2 separate regions of the Homo sapiens genome follow, and region 1 is linked to region 2. Evidence: promoter capture Hi-C in 16 types of primary human blood cells and fetal thymus (Javierre and others, 2016). All regions are on one chromosome and are shown on one strand. Each heading gives the region's core, a stretch centred on a gene start or on the middle of the fragment in contact. The rest is flanking DNA. Distances are from core to core; before and after follow the strand shown. Region 1 overlaps NCEH1 (neutral cholesterol ester hydrolase 1). Region 2 holds the start of GHSR (growth hormone secretagogue receptor).

The links. Contacts are between HindIII fragments. The CHiCAGO score rates a contact against its expected background, and 5 or more counts as called.
Region 1: a fragment that was not itself captured here is called in contact with the fragment with the promoter of GHSR in region 2 in 1 of 17 cell types (activated CD4 T cells); the score reaches 5.9 in activated CD4 T cells.

What each region holds. Positions count from the first base shown.
Region 1 is chr3:172,630,500-172,635,768 of GRCh38, reverse strand. NCEH1 (neutral cholesterol ester hydrolase 1) reads left to right here. Exons shown (of 5, transcript NM_020792.6): 5 at 1,677-5,269. The coding sequence ends at 2,294. Among named protein-coding and RNA genes, the nearest start is that of LINC02068, 38 kb to the right of the region's middle. The HindIII fragment of the contact is 763 bases long and covers 959-1,721 here.
Region 2 is chr3:172,445,513-172,451,173 of GRCh38, reverse strand. It overlaps GHSR (growth hormone secretagogue receptor), which reads left to right and starts at 2,718. Exons shown (of 2, transcript NM_198407.2): 1 at 2,718-3,556. The coding sequence starts at 2,761. RefSeq lists enhancers at 839-1,339, 1,340-1,840, 2,792-3,559. The HindIII fragment of the contact is 14,293 bases long and covers 1-5,661 here.

The DNA of each region.
Region 1 (5,269 bases), core at 91-2,590, 190 kb before region 2:
GAGCTCTCAGAGATCTCGTTGAAGTAGGAAGATGAGTCATTGGAGGAAGTATCACCTATGAGTCTTTGTAAAGTCCCTGATTACAGTCAGTGTTAGAGAAGGGCTGACATCCCTTGCTTCTCAGGGCTATGTATGGAACTCCAGTATCCCCTGCTCCTTTTTCATGTTTGACTTGCAAATCGGAGTATTTTTGCTTAAATTCCAGTTCCTAAGATTGTTCCTTACAACTTTGAGCCAAATTAAAACCTTAAAATTTGTTTCCCCAACTTTTTTTTAATGTAAAAGAAAGAAATTAAACGATTCAGCCATTTAAATATTATCTTACAAGTTACTATGAGCTTTACCTGGTTTAATTCTTTGAAAACTATATCTAGCTTCTAATAGCACCCCAATTTTTTTGGCAAGTGGGAAAAAGCACATTTTCTTCCTGTTATGGATGAAGTAACTTAAGACATCTTTGTCTTCTCACCTCCAAATTTCATTTGGTGTCCTCAAATACCATCTGTCATTCTAATTATGATGTACCTTGGCTTCTAACTCTTTTGCTATAATTCAAGAACTTGATTTTCCATTTGGCATTGGCAAGTTTTCCATCCAAATATGGTCAGAAGAGAGTCTTGGCTCAGTGGAGAGAACATTCTTGGCTTTGAAGCCAGACAGCACTGGGATCTAACCCAGGACCCACCGTTGAGTGCTGCGGGGCCCTGGATAAGTCCCTTAACCTCTCTGAGCCTCAGAAAAACGAGGACAGTGTCATCTGATTGCAGGGCTGTTGCAAGGACTTAGTGAGGTGATGTGTATACAATTTTTGGCACATATTCAAAGTGCTATTTACTGACCATTCTTGCTTTTGGAGAGCAGTCATATCTCACCTGGGAATGGGTTTCTAAAGTCCAAGTATGAAGCAGAAGTGTATGGCTAAAGTTACCTTGAAGATCATTTAGTTGTCTATGAAGCTTCATGACTAGTTAGCTTTCTTTTAGATGTTACACGACAAATATATAATTTTGCACACTAGAATTACAAAATGGGGCAATGTTAACACTGTGGGGAGGTGTTGGGGGACTGAGATCTGTTGAGGTAGGGGATTCATTCACATTCCCATGACAACTTCACTCTGGCATATGCTCATTATGTAGAATGGAGGGTGCATTGCCAGAACTATTTAAATTCTGTCTCACCAAGCGTGAAGATGCTCACCAGAAAGCATACCCTGAGGTCCTACTTAAACACTCAGGAGTCTCATAATCTGCTTATTAAGTTTTTTCTGCCCCTCTCTTCTGGAAGAATAAGACTAATTTTTTTCCCCCTAGGAAGCCATGACCTTTTTGGGGGTTTTGTAGGGAATAAAAAATTAAATAAGGTTCACACATTATCCATTCATAATACCTAGGTGTCTTAACTGCCTAAAGATAGATACAAGTACAGGGTTCACTCAAAACTGAGTTGTAAACATCATACCTTTCTTAGTTAAATATCTAGCAGCTTGATAGGGTGGTGATGGTAATGATGGAGAATTATTTTTTAAACTTTATTATTTATACAGTGCCTGGTAGAAATGTAACACTTATACCATTGACAGATTCAGAGTAACACATGAAGCTACTCTACAGGGTATGGTTCCTATAAAAGAAGGCATGCAAAATGAAATAATGTATTTGCTTCCTCTTCTCTAGTTTACTCAAGATGCCAGCCTAAAAAATAAGCTCAAACTACAAGCTTTAATTTATCCAGTTCTTCAAGCTTTAGATTTTAACACACCATCTTATCAGCAAAATGTGAACACCCCAATCCTGCCCCGCTATGTCATGGTGAAGTATTGGGTGGACTACTTCAAAGGCAACTATGACTTTGTGCAGGCAATGATCGTTAACAATCACACTTCACTTGATGTGGAAGAGGCTGCTGCTGTCAGGGCCCGTCTAAACTGGACATCCCTCTTGCCTGCATCCTTCACAAAGAACTACAAGCCTGTTGTACAGACCACAGGCAATGCCAGGATTGTCCAGGAGCTTCCTCAGTTGCTGGATGCCCGCTCCGCCCCACTCATTGCAGACCAGGCAGTGCTGCAGCTCCTCCCAAAGACCTACATTCTGACGTGTGAGCATGATGTCCTCAGAGACGATGGCATCATGTATGCCAAGCGTTTGGAGAGTGCCGGTGTGGAGGTGACCCTGGATCACTTTGAGGATGGCTTTCACGGATGTATGATTTTCACTAGCTGGCCCACCAACTTCTCAGTGGGAATCCGGACTAGGAATAGTTACATCAAGTGGCTAGATCAAAACCTGTAAAGGAGCAAAACTTCCAGAAGCCTCGAGCCCCTCTTGACCTCCTACACCTGCTTTGGAAAGACATGCACTTTTTAGTTGACTAATTCTTCCTCCCATTCCCCTCTACTTGCGAGTTATGGAATTTCTATTCCATAACTGAAGTCTTTATGATAACCTAATTTTTAAAAATGAATTTGACTAACTTAAGTGCAAAACATGTAAATTTGGTTCCCAGAGTGGGCCAATCTCTCTGTTCTTGTTATCTTAGCCAACTATACTGATACCTACAGCTACAGAAAGCAGGACTAGGAACTGGAAATAACTTTGGGTCCTGCCTTCATTAGGACGTTCTTTTTAGAAGCAGTTCTTCCAGCTCTGGATCATAGAGTGACCTTTAATAAGTTAAAAAAACGAGGACTCCTTAATTCTGCTAGAGTTAACCTTGAGTTCAGAGCAGTATTAAATGCGTGCACTTTCAGGTCAGTACTGGGGACCAAGTACCCTCTGGTCTTTTGTGAATGGATGGTTTTGTTTCCTATGGGAATTTTGGCAAAGGTTTTCTGGAAAGAACAAGTTTCTCAAAGGACTTTCTTCCTCTAGAATGTTCATTTTATGAGATCGCTATCTGTAAGTCCAGTTGGATTACAGGAATACTTGAAAGTTACTTTCTACCACTATTAGAAAATATGAAGTCGCATGCACTGGATATCTATATATCATTAGGTTTTTGTTGTGTTTTTGGTTATGCTGTCCCCCTTCTCCTTGGGGAGATATTTGGGAGCAAACTTATTTAGATTTAGAGTAAACTTTTCATTATAGAGCAAGTAAAAACAGACAAATGAAACAACCTAGTGTTTCACATAAAAATACTTCTGACATAAAGTACCAAGAGCAGTGTGAATATACTTGGCATAGTCAAAAAAGAAAATACATTTAATATTAGTTCAAAATTGTTAAAAATACCTTTAGAAGGTCTAGTCTATTATTGAAAACTCAATTTTTTCACTTATATGGCTTTAAAATGGAGCTATTTTGCTACAATATAATGTATTGTTTATTTTTTTAAGTTATTTAATGTTAATATACATAGCTAGACTTAAGGTTTTTCAGAAAGATGTCCATAATAAATATTAAAAACAATGGTATTTTTTAAAAAACTGCCTTAGGGTTTTAAAACCTTCCCTACAGTTATAACCACGTGTAATTTTGTGGAAATGATATAACAGCTATTAATACTACTATAACATAGGCATAAATATTTTCGTGTTTATATGCATATACAAGTTAAAATAATTAGAAACTATGACTGCGCCTAGTAAAGTCATCTAGGTTTATAGTTCAGTAGCTTAGGCAAGGCACACACTGCTCATCTCCGCTTTTTAGGGTCAGAGGAACACAAGCTCATGTTCTGAGTGAAGGGCGTACACTGGCACCTGGTGTTGCCTAGATCCCCCATCTCCTCCTTCCAGCCAGGTCTGGAAGTTTCAACAGCCCAAGCTTAACTTCATGTAAAGTCTTCACTGCCAGTGGGAACATCTTTGACACAACAAGACACTCCAATTGTGATTTGAGTTGAGGATCTCTGCCTGCCTTCCTGCCGTCCTTCCTTCTTCCCCGATCCATGCTACTTTTAGGGGCTGCGGAGAGCAGCAGCAGAGCTGAGTAATGATACAGGGCACCACGGAGAGAAAGTAGAACCATTTCACTCCTGGGAAGATGGGGTATTTCCCACTTCCAGCAACGAAATAACAAATGAAAAGTTGCATACTTATTGATGTATTGTATGAGCCAGTAGCATTTTATGTACAAAACAGAAGTCAATGCAACAGTATGTATGTGTGCCTGTGTGTGTATAAAAATAACCATTGAAGCTAACTTGCTAATGTACTTAGGCAAGCCACTTCCCATCTCTGGGCCTCGTCTTTCCTCCCTCTAAAATCAAAGAGCTGAATTATGTGATCCTTGAGGTCTCTTCCACTTATAATACCAACTGTCTTGTCAGACTGGCAAATTATATTGGCCTCTCCTTATGTGGTGGTTTTTTTGGTAGGTCATAGTTCCTTATACACAGACACCTGCATCATCGAAGGTCTTTTTTTCCTAAAAAAAAAAAATGGGATTTTAGTTCTTATTCTGTGATAACTATCCTCCTCATATAATACTATTCTTTTTGACACCATTTGAAGGAACCAATATTTGGACCTTATTTTGAGGTTGTCTGTCTCGAAGAAAAAGAAAATAAAATGTATAGGCAGGGTTCCTTCAATTGGCATTTTCCCCAGAATTGTGAGCCAAAGCCTATAGTAATTGCAGACAGCAAATGATTCCGGATCTCTAAAAGGCTCTCTCAGATGAAAAGGGAGTAAAGGAAAAAAGAGGTCAACCACTGTTTCTGATAATGTACTTGAGTTTCATTGTTCTTTTAGTTTGTATTCTTATAAAAAATGTTTACACTCTGCAGATTGATTTTTTTTTTTTAGTACTGTGGCTTTCTTTTCCTATTTTATGAAAAAAATGATAATCTTTTTGTAAAATTGTCTGTGAAATATAAACATTAATATATAAAGAAAAACCTTGAAGTGCTGTATAGTGAAGTATAAATTAATGTTTTATTGATTTGTGAAGAATTTAAGACTATTATATAATTATCTTGGTGGATCTATTTTATGCATGACCTTTTAACCTTTGACTTTGCTTATTTCCCACTACGAAGGGGAAGGTAGATTTTATGAATGATTTTAATAGCAAATATATTTTATAAAGTGAAAATCCAGTGTGGAGGTAGCAAAGCATCTATCTATTCTGAATCATGTTTGGAAATAAAATTGCTCCATCTGGGAATGTGCTTTCATTTTCCCGTCTCATTTTCTGTTTCCCATTTGAAAACAGTGTTCTCTTCTCTTCTTTCTGTATGCCAAATTGCCAGCCACAATTCTTTCCCAATCTTCTGCCCAGTGGAGTACTCCAGCTGTCTTTCCTTTAGAGAGGTGGTTCAG
Region 2 (5,661 bases), core at 1,469-3,968:
TTTCACATGTTGTGAATAAATAGAGCAACTACAATAGCACCCTCTGTTTCTTCTTGGTCATGCAATATAGATTTGTCTATATTTTAGAAACTGGTTGAGTGCCATTAAATGGCTGGCTATTTTAGCTAACATGAAAATTTTTTTTATCACAATAGTTTTGGTGGTTTTTGTTTTCAGTTTTTTCAACTATCAGCCATAGCTTTAGCACTGAGTAGACTAGAAATATATCCAACAATATTTTCCTGATTCTCAGTCTTAGGCAATAACTTCCCATAGTATTCTGATTTATCCCAGTCCACTTTCTCTCCCTTTCTTTCCACATACATCAACCTACTGATAATATAGGTCAGGGAGTAACAAAGTTATTGATTAAATAAAAACTTGTTTGTAATTGGTAGTTTGACTTAGTTGTAATACTTAAAAAATAGTAGTCTGAAATTAATGTTTTAAAAACTCAATTTGGGGCCGGGCACAGTGGCTCACGGCTGTAATCCCAGCACTTTGGGAGACCGAGGCGGGCAGATCACGAGGTCAGGAGTTCGAGACAAGACTGGCCAGTATGGTGAAACCCTGTCTCTTCTAAAAATACAAAAAAAAATTATCCAGGCGTGGTGGCACACGCCTGTAGTCCCAGCTACTAGAGAGACTGAGGCAGAAGAGTTGCTTGAACCTGGACTTATGCGCTCAGAAGTCCAAACGGGTGGGAGATCCAATACTGGGAGGCGGAGGTTGCAGTGAGCAGAGATCGCGCCACTGCACTCCAGCCTGGGCGACAGAGGGAGACTCCGTCTCAAAACAAAACAAAACAAAACCAGCAAAACAAAACAAAACAAAGCAAAACGAAACAAAACTCAGTTTGGTCCAATGTCTAACACACCAGCGGCAACCAAACCACTATGTTAAATTTCCTGTATCAAACTTCTCTCATGTAGTAATTTACTGCATGGAGTCTTTCACGCATTTGTGCACACATTCAGTCTTAGGTCTTTGTGGACTTTTAAGTATTAACAATTTAGGTAGTAGAGGTGGTACAAACTGTCTGTGAAAGGCAAGTACAAACGCATTCAACTGAGGGGGATACTCTCTCATACACAGTACGTGGTATCTCATCGGGTGAGCGCCGATGTGTATGGTCAAGGCAGTGACTAACGCCGGCCTGTGCTTCGTGGGAGTCTGCCCTGCTCCTCCGTGGGGTAGGACTGAGGCGTTAGAAGCGCAAGTTAAAAACGGTGGGAGTGACAGGGAAGCCATTCCTCCAGCGGCGCTTTGCGGTAGGATGGATGTGGCGCTGGCCACAGTGCTGAATATGTTCCTGGGGCGGTCCCGAGGTCGGTGGGCCGGGAGGGGCCGGTCGGATTTGTGAATTCGCTGGCAACTGGCAGTCTCATGCCTTCGGGTGCTGATTTCTGGCTCTGAGCAGGAGACGCACAGACCGCGTCCAGAGGGTCACCTTGCTAGTGTAGGGGTGGCCTTTGACCTGTTCCCACCGGCACAGCTTCTACTTCTCAACAGCAACGCGTCTTCTATTTATTGAGTGCCTCCGGTGGTCCCTGACACTTGATATCACCCCCAGTGGTCCGCACAAATCATTGCAATTCAAAGAAAAAGACGTAATGCTCAGGAGGTTGAAGACCTTGCCCAAGGGAATACGGCTACTAAATGGCTGATCTCTCTCAGTTATGCCTCAAAAAATGTTTCCTGCACACTCTCGACGCGCCAGCCTCACAGCCTCTTCTTCACTTGCCGCCTCCACACACCTCCAACCCTGCCTTTTTCCTTTCTCCTGTTCCCTCCCTGACCAACCTCGGCACCCCGCCACCAGGTTTGCATCAAGCAAAAGTAATATACCCTACAGCAGACTCTCTACCACTACCGAGTGATACAAAGGACTGGGATTCTGGACAGGGTTTACTCACATATCTTGCCCCTGTGCGCTCAGAAGTCCCAACCGGGTGGGAGATCCGACACTGGTCCCCGAGTCCCCAGCTCGCTGTGTGACCTTGGACAAGTAGTCACATCGCTGAACCTGGGTCCTATAACTGCGTGAGACTATTCTTTGGTGCTCACCGGTATGAATACAAACACAAGGTCCTTCTTTTCTCTCTCTATCCCCCTTCCCAAGTCGAGTTGGTCAAGCTCGCTTTTTCTTTCCACCAGGGCCATAGCCAGCTGCAGCCTTGTGGAGGAAGAAATCAGGTCCCAGCTGCTAAAGGTGTCCTCCCCACCGCCACCGTCGTCTTCACCCCCACCCCCGGGTGTGACCTGTCCTTCCGGGGCACACTAGTCCAGCGTCGCCCAGGGCTTCGGAGAGAGCGCCTCACGCTCCCGCTTCGCGGCGCCTGGTCCCTGCGGTCCCCACTCGCTGCGACGCTTTGGGAAGTGCGAGATGGAACTGGATCGAGAACGCAAATGCGAGGCAGGGCTGGTGACAGGTATGCGTGTGGGCGCCGGCCGGAGGATGTGTTGGGAGAAACTTTGGGGGAGTTGGTGGGGGAAAGGGGAGGTGTCAGAGAAAGCAGTGGGTCACTCTCTCACCCACTGACCACCAGTCTCTCTCCCTCTTCCTTGTCCCCATCTCACCTTCTTCCTCGGCTTCTGCCTCTCACCTCCCTCTCTTTCTTCTCCAAGCATCCTCCCTACGCGTCTGCACCCGCTCCTCCCTCGCACCCTCCCGCGCCTAAGCGGACCTCCTCGGGAGCCAGCTCGGTCCAGCCTCCCAGCGCAGTCACGTCCCAGAGCCTGTTCAGCTGAGCCGGCAGCATGTGGAACGCGACGCCCAGCGAAGAGCCGGGGTTCAACCTCACACTGGCCGACCTGGACTGGGATGCTTCCCCCGGCAACGACTCGCTGGGCGACGAGCTGCTGCAGCTCTTCCCCGCGCCGCTGCTGGCGGGCGTCACAGCCACCTGCGTGGCACTCTTCGTGGTGGGCATCGCTGGCAACCTGCTCACCATGCTGGTGGTGTCGCGCTTCCGCGAGCTGCGCACCACCACCAACCTCTACCTGTCCAGCATGGCCTTCTCCGATCTGCTCATCTTCCTCTGCATGCCCCTGGACCTCGTTCGCCTCTGGCAGTACCGGCCCTGGAACTTCGGCGACCTCCTCTGCAAACTCTTCCAATTCGTCAGTGAGAGCTGCACCTACGCCACGGTGCTCACCATCACAGCGCTGAGCGTCGAGCGCTACTTCGCCATCTGCTTCCCACTCCGGGCCAAGGTGGTGGTCACCAAGGGGCGGGTGAAGCTGGTCATCTTCGTCATCTGGGCCGTGGCCTTCTGCAGCGCCGGGCCCATCTTCGTGCTAGTCGGGGTGGAGCACGAGAACGGCACCGACCCTTGGGACACCAACGAGTGCCGCCCCACCGAGTTTGCGGTGCGCTCTGGACTGCTCACGGTCATGGTGTGGGTGTCCAGCATCTTCTTCTTCCTTCCTGTCTTCTGTCTCACGGTCCTCTACAGTCTCATCGGCAGGAAGCTGTGGCGGAGGAGGCGCGGCGATGCTGTCGTGGGTGCCTCGCTCAGGGACCAGAACCACAAGCAAACCGTGAAAATGCTGGGTGGGTCTCAGCGCGCGCTCAGGCTTTCTCTCGCGGGTCCTATCCTCTCCCTGTGCCTTCTCCCTTCTCTCTGAGTCTCCATCTCTATTTCCCCCTGAGTCGCTACCTCTTTCTTCAGTTTCTCTGGGCCTCTGTCTCTCTGCGTTTCTCTCAATTATTCTCTCCTCTTGCTTTCTTGAGTGATGTTTTTGATCTCTCAATCTTTCTCTCTGTCTCTGTCTCTCTCTCTCCTCCCCCTTTACTTTGTCAGTGTCTTTCTTACCGTCTCTATCTCTTTGTGTCTCTTTCTTCCTGTCTCTCCTTTCTCTCTTTCATGCAAAAATGTCCCATATTTGTATTTCCCTAAAATAAATTTTATATCAGCCCAGAAACTCCACTTTAAAAATCGAGATATCTTATAAAAGTCCATTGTGGTCTTTAAGCGTTAAAAGTGAGGACTGACTTCCTGCCTCAAGTAGGATTTGTGAATATCTAAGTTACATTAAGAAAAGCAGGGTTTGGATCTAGAAAGCGTTCAGCGGTAAATTCAACCAAAGACATGATCAATTTGGATAATCCTCTTAGAGATTATTCATTTTTCTTTCAATATTGTGATTTGTTTTCTGCCCTGCATTTTTTCAGATAATTGCATCAATTCTGTTTACCCTGCTGCTGTTCATACAGCTTTGTAAGGAAGTCAGTGACAAATCAGTGAAGTCTCATTTGTTTTTATGATTACCTGCCTCTTCAGGTAGGATAGACTAGGATAAGGTAAGGATAAACTAGATTAAACAAAGCTCCAACAGGAGGAAAGGAGACTTTGTGGAAACCAACAGAATTCACTACTTCCCCAAATGACCCTTCAGGAACATCTGGGCACAATGTCATAACTGGATTTGCTGAATGTTTATTGCACAAATTCAGCTTCTTTAAGTATATGTGTTTGGTACAAGTGAAGTAATAATAAATATGGTTACAGCCCAGCAAAATATTAACTCTACTTGCATTTTCAAAACCAAGGTCTGTATATTTTATTATTTAGATATTATAGTCAAGACTTCATACTTAATGGCATATTTTAAGGCTTCTTAGAAGCCATTCCAGGATGATTTCATATTTCCAATTTTACAGTTCCTGGATCCTCCATATTAAAGTGATAGAGTTTATTCAAGGAATGTCAAAGATTTTATTTTCTGGACCGGTGATTCTCGTGATATGACTCATAGGTTATAAACCTGCTAGTGTCCTCCAAGGGATCCTAAGCTCTCACCTACGAGAGTCACATTGTTACTGTGGCAGTTAAGTTGCTACTATACAACTTAGTTTTAAGGATAAGTTTAATAATTTCCTCCAATTTTATTTTCAAGCCATTAATTTCTTCATTGGTGTCTCAACACCAATGTTAACTTTCTTCTTCCTTGACAATTTGAAGGGGATCACTAAAGTGTTACAACGACTAAAAAATTATTTGTTATTATTTTTCCCTGATTTCTGAATTTAAAACAATCTAAACATTTAGACATCATTAAAAATTATCTTACATAGGCAAAATGAAGACTTGGATGGATGATAATTTATATGAGTTGGTTTAATAATAGCCTTACTTATGTCTATTGTAAGTGGCATAGAATCATTCATCTCAGTGATTCTTAATCCTAACTGTATATTCAATCCTCTGTGAAACTTAAAAAAAAAAAAGAGAAGATAAAACATATGTCCTGATCGCCCTCTTAGAGATTTAAATTGACTGAGTCTATACTACATCCAAGGAATCTGCATTGTTTTAAAAAGTGCCCCAGGAGACTCGGATACACAGCTATGGTTGAGTACAACCACTTTACCTCGTAAGTGTGTCTGTTGTGTCTAACACATAAAAACTGCTGGACTATTGTGAATAAATGGTCTAGTCAGTTGAGTCAATGTGTCAACTCAGTACAAAATCACTCAGATAGTTGTTAAATAGAAATGACTGGGGAGCTCAGTAAAAATTGTTGAACTGTTGGTCCAGACAGACTGAATCTTTGTTAAAATGTTGGAACAGGAAGAGCAGGACACAATGTTTCTCTGAAGTCAATGGTCATAGACCATGAAACAAAAACAAAGTCTTAAAAATAGAATGTGATTTG